Linked DNA regions of Homo sapiens: regions 1, 2 and 4 are each linked to region 3. The links are contacts of gene promoters, found by promoter capture Hi-C in human tissues and cell types (Jung and others, 2019). All regions are on one chromosome and are shown on one strand. Each heading gives the region's core, a stretch centred on a gene start or on the middle of the fragment in contact. The rest is flanking DNA. Distances are from core to core; before and after follow the strand shown. Region 1 holds the start of ZNF844 (zinc finger protein 844). Region 2 holds the start of ZNF20 (zinc finger protein 20). Region 3 holds the start of DHPS (deoxyhypusine synthase). Region 4 overlaps ZNF439 (zinc finger protein 439).

The links. Contacts are between HindIII fragments. The study calls those that stand out against the background at their distance.
Region 1: a contact is called between the fragment with the promoter of ZNF844 here and the fragment with the promoter of DHPS in region 3, in 1 of the 25 tissues and cell types used here (spleen).
Region 2: a contact is called between the fragment with the promoter of ZNF20 here and the fragment with the promoter of DHPS in region 3, in 1 of the 25 tissues and cell types used here (stomach).
Region 4: a contact is called between a fragment that was not itself captured here and the fragment with the promoter of DHPS in region 3, in 1 of the 25 tissues and cell types used here (dorsolateral prefrontal cortex).

Annotation. Positions count from the first base shown.
Region 1 is chr19:12,063,344-12,066,043 of GRCh38, reverse strand. It overlaps ZNF844 (zinc finger protein 844), which reads right to left and starts at 1,313. Exons shown (of 4, transcript NM_001136501.3): 1 at 1,168-1,313. The coding sequence starts at 1,170. RefSeq lists a silencer at 869-1,048 and an enhancer at 1,139-1,228. The HindIII fragment of the contact is 18,413 bases long and covers 1-2,700 here.
Region 2 is chr19:12,138,908-12,141,607 of GRCh38, reverse strand. ZNF20 (zinc finger protein 20) reads left to right here and starts at 1,258. Exons shown (of 4, transcript NM_021143.4): 1 at 1,258-1,428. The coding sequence starts at 1,426. It overlaps ZNF625-ZNF20 (ZNF625-ZNF20 readthrough (NMD candidate)), which reads left to right. Exons shown (of 8, transcript NR_037802.1): 5 at 1,283-1,428. RefSeq lists a silencer at 1,472-1,681. The HindIII fragment of the contact is 9,607 bases long and covers 1-2,700 here.
Region 3 is chr19:12,680,575-12,683,274 of GRCh38, reverse strand. It overlaps DHPS (deoxyhypusine synthase), which reads left to right and starts at 1,395. Exons shown (of 9, transcript NM_001930.4): 1 at 1,395-1,715. The coding sequence starts at 1,509. RefSeq lists enhancers at 1-174, 698-1,220, 1,286-1,580, 1,221-1,744 and cis regulatory regions at 1,104-1,638, 1,664-2,164. The HindIII fragment of the contact is 10,903 bases long and covers 1-2,700 here.
Region 4 is chr19:11,868,675-11,871,374 of GRCh38, reverse strand. It overlaps ZNF439 (zinc finger protein 439), which reads right to left. Exons shown (of 4, transcript NM_001348719.2): 4 at 1,889-2,700. Among named protein-coding and RNA genes, the nearest start is that of ZNF69, 18 kb to the left of the region's middle. The HindIII fragment of the contact is 4,163 bases long and covers 1-2,700 here.

The sequences.
Region 1 (2,700 bases), core at 64-2,563, 620 kb after region 3:
CAATCACCTGAGCTGCTGCTCAGGTGGGTCCAGGATGCAGTGAGCCGTGATCGCGCCATGCACTCCAACCTGGGCGACAGAGTGAGACCTTGTTTAAAAAACAATTTTTAGCCGGGCCAGGTGGCTCACGCCTGTAATCCTAGCCCTTTAGGAGGCCGATGCGGGCGGATCACCTGAGGTCAGGAGTTCAAGACCACCTTGGCCAACACGGTGAAACCCCGTCTTTACTGAAAATACAGAAATCAGCAGGGCGTGGTGGCGTGCCTGTAACCCCAGCTACTAGGGAAGCTGAGCAGAAGAATCGCTTGAATCCGGGAGGCAGAGGTTGCACTGAGCCCAGATCGTGTCATTGCACTCCAGCCTGGGCAAAAAAGAGCGAGACTCTGTCTTAAAAAAAAAAAAAAAAATTGTAAGAAAAAAATATTAAAGAAAAATCCCTAACTATAAGCCTTCGGGGAGACTGATTTGAGTGCTAACTCTGTCTCCGTCTTCGGCGTTGCGTGGTCCATCTCGTGTCAAACATTTTCTTTACTGCAATGCCCTGGTCTTTCTTTTTGCAGCACAGGCAGGAAGAACCCCTCAGGCGATTACAACAACAAAGCATCTAGTACACATTGATCATGATGTGAACAAAAACACGACAGCAGTTGCCAAGCTCTAAGCCACAGACAGCAGGGAAAACATTTATCCGCTGTCACAAGTTCTCCACGCTAGGCCAGGCGCGGTGGCTCACGCCTCTATTCCCAGCACCGGGCCTGTTTAAGTTTTAACAGGAGAAAGGGGGCACTGAGGGCCTCACAGCGCAGCTCCTCCCGCACGAGCCCCACACCCAAGGCGGGATTGCCCCCATGACCCTCCCGTGGCCCCGCACAATATGGAGAGGCTCCGGGCTGCGGGCGCGGAGCTGTCCAGAGAGGGCTCCCGGGCTGGGGCCGCAGTCGCCGCGCGGCGACGAGACAGGGCGCCCAGGGGTCCCGGCTGCCGGCCCAGCCGCACCCGGCGGCCGAATGGACCGAAGGCCGAGCTGCGCCAGCGGGGCTCGGGCCCCAGACCTCGAGTCGCCGCGGGGAGGTCCGGGTCCCGGCACAGCCGGTTCCAGCCAGTTCCAACCAGCCTCCGCCTACCCTCCCCCAAGTCTCGGGACTCCCAGCGGGGGCTCACACTCACCATTTCCTGGCTTTCAGGTGACTCCCACGTCCAAAGCAGTCACAACACAGACGACAGGGCGACAGAAGTATGGCGGTGGCAACCGGTCCCTCTCAGAGCAGGAAAAACGGGGTGCCAACCTCACCCGGCGGGAGGGGCCAAAGACTGAGGCGAACGGCAATGTGACCCGCGGATAAACAGTTGGCCGGGCCCCACCCCGGCGACTCTGATTGGGTGGAGCGCCAGGCCCCGCCCCCTGCATCCTGAGTGACAGCAGAAGTCCTGGGTAACAGGGCCAAGCAGAGCAGGACTGACCGCTTCAAGCCACAGTCCAAGGTCAAGTTCCCTCTCTACGCCCTGCTCTTTGAAAATTTGCATTTCGGCCAAACTTGCTCGTCTTAATTACTAGAAGTGGCTCTGTCAATGGTCTGTCCCTGCTTCTTCGTCCTGCACAGTGTCATAAGTGTGTGCAGGGAGTTCCAGACTCTATGTTTAATAGAGGTGAAAGCAATTAAAATATTTTATTCCAAAATATATTTATTTGGCAATTTCGAATGGCTGCAGCTTTGCCCTTGCACAACTGTCTTCTGGGGGGTGAAATTTGCGTCTATGGAGTATTTCCATTAGTGAAGCCATGCCCCCTCTCCCCTTTTCCCTTTCCCTGATCCGGGAGAAATTGAGAGTCTGACACTTTTAAAAGTCTGGAAAGCCGGGCGCGGCGGCTCACGCCTGTAATTTCAGCACTTTGGGAGGCCGAGGCGGGTATATCACCTGTGGTCGGGAGTTCGAGACCAGCCTGGCCAACATGGTGAAACCACATCTCTACTAAAATACAAAATATTAGCCAGTCGTGGTGGCGGACGCCTGTAATCCTAGCTATGTGGGAGGCTGAGGCAGGAGAATCACTTGAAGCTGGGAGGCGGAGGTTGCAGTGAGCCGAGATCATGCCACTGGACTCCAGCCTGGGCAACAAGAATGAAACTCCGTCTCAAAAAAAACAAAAACAAAAAAAGTCTGGAAAGAGGCCAGGCAAGGTGGCTGGGGCCTGTAATACCAGCACTTTAGGAGGCCAGGGCAGGAGAATCACTTTGGCCCAGGAGTCGAGGGCTGCAGTGAGCTGTGATTGCACCAGTACACTCCAGCCTGGGCAACAGAGTGAGACCAAAAAACAAAATAAGTAAGAAATTCTGGTTTTGCTTTTTTTTTTTTTTTTTTTTGAGATGGTGTCTTGCTCTGTTGCCCAGGCTGGAGTGAGTGACGCGATCTCGGCTCACCGCAAGCTCCGCCTCCCGGGTTCACGCCATTCTCCTGTCTCAGCCTCCCGAGTAGCTGGGACCACAGGCGCCTGCCACCATGCCTGGCTAATTTTTTGTGCTTTTAGTAGAGACGGGGTTTCACCGTGTTAGCCACGATGGTCTCGATCTCCTGACCTCGTGATCCGCCCGTCTCGGCCTCCCAAAGTGCTGGGATTACAGGCGTGAGCAACCGTGCCCGGCCAGAAATTCTTAAAAGAAGCATTTTGCATCCATTCTCTCTGTGGGAGTCTTCATCTAT
Region 2 (2,700 bases), core at 9-2,508, 540 kb after region 3:
GATTTCACCATGTTGGTCACGCTGGTCTCCAACTCCTGATCTCAGGTGATCCAGCCACCTCGCCCTCCCAAAGTGCTGGGATTACAGGCTTGAGCCACAGCGCCCAGCCACTACTGCCTCACTTTCATGCAGTTAAATAATCTTGGACACTTCCTCCTCGACTTTATACATACACACTGGAGGAGAGCTTTGCTCGTGTGTTATTCTCGCAGTGGGATTGAGGATGTTTGTCTCATGGAAACTGATGAATGATGTGAGAAGCAGGTGAATAACCTGCAGGGGGCAGCAGAGACCGACGCCAGGGACGGGACGCTGAGGCTAGTATGGATCCTGCCAAGGAGTGAAGTGGAGTTCTGGGTGCTTCCTGGGCAGCCGCCCTCCCCTGCAGGTGGCTTGCAGCTGCTCAGAGCAGATCCAGAAAGAGTGTGGGTTCTGACATGCTGCAGCGCCCTGGAAAGCAGGAGACCCACGTGCAGGTGCACTTCAGGAGTTCTGTCCTTTCTGCGGCTGTACATCTGGAATCTGGGGCGGTTTTCGGGAGCAGTGTTTTGGGTTTGACATGCATAGAGTCCCTGGGGTCAGACTGTAATTTGCATATCTGAAGAAAATCCGTAAAGATCAAGTTCAGGGAAATAACTGTTTGGGACCTCTCCTGGAGAAGGGGCTTATGCAGTTGACAGTTTATTTAGGTCAGAAGCTTAAAATCACCAAGTGAGAGTTTTCTGCCGATGAAGATGAAGGTCTGGAAGGAGGGAGAGTTTCCACACTGTGAGGTGGGGTGAGATGTGTGAAAGCCTTGGCCATGTCTCATCCCTAATTCCGGGCCCCTGAAGGACAACTGCCTCTCCTTCTTGGTGCAGTCGTGCCTGGCCTGATCTGGGCTCCCCTTCCTGCTCTGAGGTCAGCACATCGCTCCATTGGACACTCAGTCTGGAATTCCCTGCACACACTTACAACCCTGTGCAGGACGAAGAAGCACTGACAGCCCATTGAATGAGGAAGAAGATAGTGCCCTGTGTAAAAATCAGGAGCAAATTTGGCTGAAAAGAAAATATCCAATGACCAGGGCTCAGGGAAGGAGTTGTCCCTTAGAGAGAAGCTGTGGCTAGAACCGATCAGTCCGGCTTTGCAGGGCTCGTTACCCAGGGCTTCTGCCGTCACTCAGTTCTGAGGGGGCGGGGCCTTGTACCTTGTCCAATCAGAAGCGCCGGGGCGGAGCCCGGCCAACGGTCCGTCCGGAAGGAGGAGGCCCATTCCAGCTTCTACTTTTGTTGCTATGCAGGTTGTTGTCGGGATACCAGATTTCCTACTCCGAGAGGCCCCGGGTCCCTCTGCCACAACTTCTGTCGCTCTGCCGCCTGCACCGTGACCCGCACTATTCACGGGAGCCCTAGAGAGGACACCGGGACACCCAGAAGCCGGGAAATGGTGAGTGTATGGGGCCGGAGTCCCCAGACGGGGGAGGGGCTGGGTGGAACCGGCCGGAAGCGGCTGTGGTGGGATCTGGGCCTCCTCGCCGCGCCTCCTGGATCTGGGACCCGAATCCCTCTGTCTCAGCTCGTCCCTGCGTCCCCTCGGCCGCAGGGTGCGGCTGGGCCGGCAGCCGGGACCCCGGGCGTCCTCCTGTTCTGTTCCTGCGCGGGCGACTGTGGGCCCCGACCCTGGAGCCCTCTCTGGGCAGCTCCGCGCCTGCAGCCCCGCGTCTCTTCAGATTTTGCGGGGACCACGGGAGGGTCATGGGGGAATCCTGCGGATTTTTTTTTCTGTTAAAGAGTTTGGGCCGGGCGCGGTGGACCATGCTTGTAATCCCAGCACTTTGGGAGGCCGAGGCTTGCGGATCACGAAGTCAGGAGATCGAGACCATCCAGGCTAACACAGTGAAACCCCGTCTCTACTAAAAATACAAAAAATTAGCCGGGCATGGTGGCATGCGCCTGTAGTCCCCGCTACTCAGGAGGCTGAAGCAGGAGAATCGCATGACCCCAGGAGACGAAGGTTGCAGTGAGCCGAGATCACGCCACTGCACTCCAACCTAGGGGACAGAGCGAGATTCCATCTCAAAAAAAAAAAAAAATTTAAAGAGTTTGAGCAAACAGCGATTCATGAGTGAGAAACGCCCAGTCATGATTTGTGGTTTTGGTACCAGAAAGTTTTAAGAAGAATTGCATTTTGTTAACGGTGGAGGGGGTCCAGGTTCTTGGCGTCTTGAACAAAGAATTGGACAAAACGCACAAAGCAAGGAAGGAATGAAGGGATTTAACACTCCACAGTGTGCAAGCGGGGCTGAGCACAGGGGCTCAAAGGCCCCGTTACAGAATTTTTGGGAGTTTAAATACCCCCTGGAGGATTCCATTGGTTACTTGGGGTATACTCTATGTAAAAGGAGAGGATGAAGTAAGGTTATAAAATCATTTACTTGGCTTACGCCCTATGGAGTAGGTATTTCCTTTCATAGCTGAAGTTTGAATAGGCCTTATGTTCCCTGCGTCCAGACCCTATTTTCCTGCCTCAATTTGAGTTTGATTTTGGTGTCCTTAGGTAGTTTCTTATAGCACTAAACACACTTCAGTCTAATTGCTGCTGCTTTAAATTTTTTCACACTGTCTATAGGGACTGGCTTCCTCCTGCATTTTCCTAATGTATGGGTCTCAAATCCTCCACCCTGCTACCCCGCCCTAACTCTTCAGCAGTTTGCAGTAA
Region 3 (2,700 bases), core at 146-2,645:
TAGCCGGGCGTGGTGGCCGGCGCCTGTAGTCCCAGTTACTGGGGAGGCTGAGGCAGAAGAATGGCGTGAACCTGGGAGGCGGAGGTTGCAGTGAGCCGAGATCGTGCCACTGCACTCCAGCCTGGGAGACAGCGCAAGACTCTAGCTCAAACAAACAAACAAACAAAACAGCAACAACAACAACAAAACCATCCTCCCCTCCCGAGGGGACAGAACAGAAACGAATGGGCGAGTGCCGGGCCAAGCAGTGGGTCTCCAGCAGGTGGCATTAAAATAGGAATTTTGGCTGGGGACGGTGGCTCACACCTGTAATCTCAGCACTTTGGAAAGCCCAGGCGGGCGGTCACCTGAGGGCAGAACCAGCCTCGCCAACATGGTGAAATGCCATCTCTACTAAAAATAAAAAATTAGCCAGGCCTGGTGGTGGGTGTCTGTAATCCCAGCAACTCGGGAGGCTGAGGCAGGAGAATCGCTTGAACCAGGGGGGCAGAGGTTGCAATGAGTCAAGATTGCACCACCGCACTCCAGCCTGCGTAACAAGAGCGTGTAACTCTTGTCTCAAAAATAAATTAAATAAATAAATAATAAAAATAAAAAAGAATCTTCATTCATGGGAAGTCGAGAACACATGAAAACAAGTAAAGGCCGAAGCGCAGTGGCTCACGCCTGTAATCCCAGCACTTTGGGAGGCTGAGGCGGGCGGATAACCTGAGGTCGGAAGTTCGAGACCAGCCTGACCAACAGGGAGAAACCCCGCCTCTACTAAAAATACAAAATTAGCCGGGCATGGCGGTGCATGCCAGTAGTCCCAGCTACTCGGGAGGCTGAGGCAGGAGAATCGCTTGAACCCGGAATGTGGAGGTTGTGGTGAGCTGAGATCGGGCAATTGCACTCCAGCCTGGGCAACAAGAGCGAAACCCTGTATCAAAAAAAAAAAAAAGAAAAAAAAAGGAAGAAAAGGCCTAAAGGCGCCGGGCGCGGTGGGTCACGCCTGTAATCCCAGCACTTTGGGAGGCCGAGGCGGGCGAATCACGAGGTCAGGAGATCGAGACCAGGTGAAACCCCGTCTCTACTAAAAATACAAAAAAATTAGCCGGGCGTGGTGGTGGGCGCCTGTAGTCCCAGCTACTCGGGAGGCTGAGGCAGGAGAACAGCGTGAACCCGGAAAGCGGAGCTGGCAGTGAGCTGAGATCGCGCCACTGCACTCCAGCCTGGGTGACAGAGCGAGACTCCGTCTCAAAAAAAAAAAAAAAAAAAAAAAGAAAGAAAGGGCCTAAAGGCTCCTCGCGGCTTCCGTATTACGGAACACACGCACAAAAATGGCGGCGACCTGGTTTACAGGGGCTAAAAATGGTCACGTGATAAACCAACTTCCGGTCTTTCGCCCAAAGCACGTTCCCTACTTCCTGTGCTCTTGCGGAGACGCGCGCGTCGGGGTTTAACGCGTTTCTGGGCCGCCGTAAGCCCGGCCTAGGGGCAGCTTTGACTCGAGAGCCGGCTATAGGCGCATGGAAGGTTCCCTGGAACGGGAGGCGCCAGCGGGGGCGCTGGCCGCCGTGCTAAAGCACAGCTCGACGTTGCCGCCCGAAAGCACCCAGGTCCGGGGCTACGACTTCAACCGCGGTGTGAATTACCGCGCACTGCTGGAGGCCTTCGGCACCACCGGCTTCCAAGCAACCAACTTCGGGCGCGCTGTACAGCAAGTCAATGCCATGGTGAGGACCGGGCGGAATTTCTAGGGACGCGGAGGGGCGTGGCTTGTAGAACCAACGCGGTACTAGACGGGGGCAGCGTTTCCAGTGGAGGGGATATGTCTTTTATTTGAGTTGCCCAATAGTTGGAGGAAGGCGGGACCTATTCTGGGCGGGAGTTTCTGTCCTGGGAAGGGGATTTTGCACTCTGGTAGTTACATGCTGGTACGGTAACCTGAGGAGGCGAGGACTGATTCTTGGTGTGGGGGCGGGTTCTAGGTACATTTAAAGCTTTCTGGAATGGGCGGAGCCTGGGGCAAGACAAATTAAGGGAGGATATGGGAGGAGGAGCCTAAGTCTGGGCGGTTCTTGAATTTAGATTTGCTTTTCCCAGCGGGGAAGGGACCGGATCTGAAAGGAGATGCTCTCTGATTCCTAAAAGGGTGGGGGCTGGCTGGGCGCGGTGGCGCATGCCTATAATCCCAGCATTTTGGGAAGCCGAGGCGGGTGGATCAAGAGAAGAGGAGTTCGAGACAAGCCTGGCCAACATGGTGAAACCCTGTCTCTACTAAAATGCAAAAAATTAGCCGGGCATGGTGTTGCGCGCCTGTAGTCCCAGCTACTCGGGAGGCTGAGGCAGGAGAATCGCTTGAACCCGCGAGGTGGAGGTTGCAGTGAGCTGAGATTGCGCCACTGCACTCCAGCCTGGTGACAGAGCGATACTCTGTCTCAAAAAAAAAAAAAAAAAAAGGCCGGGCACGGTGGCTCATGCCTGTAATCTCAGCATTTTGGGAGGCCGAGGCGGGCGGATCACCTGAGGTCGGGAGTTCGAGACCAGCCTGACCAACATGGAGAAACCCCGTCTCTACTAAAATGCAAAAAATTAGCCGGGCATGGTGGTGCGCGCCTGTAGTCCCAGCTACTCGGGAGGCTGAGGCAGGAGAATCGCTTGAACCCGGGAGGTGGAGCTTGCAGTGAGCCGAGATCGCGCCATTGCACTCTAGCCTGG
Region 4 (2,700 bases), core at 137-2,636, 810 kb after region 3:
CACACCATGATGCCCAGCTATTTTTTTGTATTTTTAGACGAGACAGGGTTTCACCATGTTGGCCAGGCTGGTCTTGAACTGCTGACCTCAAGTGATCCACCTGCCTCGGCCTCCCAAAGTGCTGGGATTACAGGTGTGAGCCACCATGCCTGGCCAGGTTTCACTGCCCTGTCTTCCCTGTTCTGAGTTACTTTGTGTGATCCGACAATCAATGACTCCTCCCTTCACTGATGTGGATACATTATCTGGGACTGGGTGTGTCACCTCCACACACAGACAGGGCTTGGTCAGTGATTGATTCTGCATCCTGTGGTGCCTAGATTTAGACTATAAGGATTTTAAATAACTGTTTCTGAAGAGCAGCTTCACTGGACCTTACAGGAAGTGACAGAATTGTTCTAGCCATTGCATTATATATAAAAGTGACTTTTCCATGTTACCGTTAACTTTACACTGCTGAGATAAGCAGGCTGTTGACAAGTTAGCATCAACAGCACATTATCAGAGGAAGAAAGGCTTTTATTTAGACAATTTACACAAATTTATTAGCCTCCTATGACTCAGTAAAGCAATTTGAAAAAAATATAGCTTTATAAAGCGTAAATGAATTTATATATTTTAACTAAGGTACCTTCTAGTTAACAGTGCCCATACATTTTAGAAAATGTTTTAGTCTTTACAGAATAAGTAAGGCAAAAACAGGTCCAGAAGTCTATAGCTGACCTCCCCTCACCACAAGGCCAAGTTGTTTTTGTTTTTGTTTTTGTTTTTTCAGAAAGAGTTTCGCTCTTGTTGACTAGGCTGGAGTGCAATGATGGGATCTCGGCTCACTGCAACCTCTGCCTGCCAGATTCAAGTGATTCTCCTTTCTCAGCCTCCTGACTAGCTAGGATTACAGAAGCATGCCACCATGGCTGACTAAGTTTTGTATTTTTAGATGAGACAGGGTTTCATCATATTGGTCAGGGTGTTCTCGAACTCCTGACCTCAGGTGATCTGCCTGCCTCAGCCTCCCAATGTGCTGGGTTTTCAGGTGTGAGCCACCACACCCAGCCAAGGCCAAGTCTTTTACTGTTGGAGAGACACATGTTACATATCAGGCATATGAGATGATGCTCCTCAGTGATCATGATGGACCAGGACAAAAACAAGGGCATTTTGTAACTGTATTTCTAAAACTGATAGAAGTAAACATATTTCAAATCATAAACATGACGAAAATTTTTATCTTCTTACCAATGTGACTTGTAATTCTCATACATCCCACAGTCATTTATGTCTTCTGGTCATATTTATCACTATGGTATATTACACCCTTGCTGACAGCAGGTATGGCGCTGCTGGTTTTGGGCAAGAAGGTACTCAGAGATACATGAGATAACTTTTGGTATTATGAGTGAAAGAAAAATTAGGGTTGAGGCTGGGCGCAGTGGCTCATGTCTGTAAATCCAGCACTTTGAGAGGCCGAGGCAGGAGGATCACAAGGTCCAGAGTTCGAGACCAGCCTGGCCAATATGGTGAAACCCCGTCTCTACTAAATAATACACATAATTAGCTGGGTGAAGTGGTGCATGCCTGTAGTCCCAGCTACTCAAAAGGCTGAAGAAGGAGAATTGTTCAAACCTGGGAAGCAGAGATTGCAGTGAGCCAAGATCACACCACTGCACTCCAGCCTGGGCAACAGAGTGAGGCTCTTTCTAAAAAAAAAAAAAAAAAAAAAAGAAAAAGAAAAAGCAAAAGGAAAAAAAAAGAAAAATTACAGTTGAAATAAAAATTAAAGTACATAAGCATGAAAAGTAAAGTTTACATGAGGAAAAATATGCCTGGCATTTAATCCAGGTAATGCTGATTCACAATATCCAAATAATAACAATGTAACATTATAAGCTTGATCTAATACATGACACCAATGGATATTTTATTATAGCTTCTTAATTATTTAAAAAGAATAACATTTGTTAGTATACAGTTATTATAAACAGTTAATTGTTTACATTCATTATTTGTATTCAAAGAATCCTAGCCGATCTGAAGGCTTTCCCATACTGCTTACATTCATAGAGTTTCTGCCAAGTGTGAGTGCTTCCATGCATTTGAAGTCTTGAGGCTGATCTGACGGCTTTCCCACATTGCTTACATTGATACGGTTTCTCCCCAGTGTGAGTCCTTTCATGATATTGAAAAGAACTGGAAGAAGTGAAAGCTTTTGCCACATTGCTTACATTCATAGGGTTTCCTTCTGGTGTGTCTTTACATGTCTATGAAAGCAATTAAGCAAGCTGAATGCTTTCCCACAATCCTTACATTCATACGGATTCTCTCTCGTATGAGTCCTTTCATGTATATGCAAGGAAGAAAAATAATTGAATGCTTGTTTGCATTCCTTACATTCATAGGTTTCTCTCCAGTGTGTGTTTTGCATGTATTCAAACGATCTTGGCAGATATGAATGCTTTCCCACAATGCTTACATTCTTAGGGCGCCTCTCCTCTGTGCAACTTTCATGTATTTGAAAAGAAGAGAAATTATGGAACGCTTTTCCACATTTCTTACATTCATAGGGTTTCTCTCCAGTGTGTGTCCTTTCATAAATTGAAAGGTTCTTGACAGATCTGAAGACTTTCCCACATTGCTTACACTCATAGAGTTTTTCTCCACTGTGAGTCCTTTTAGATATCGAAAGGAACTGGAACAATTAAG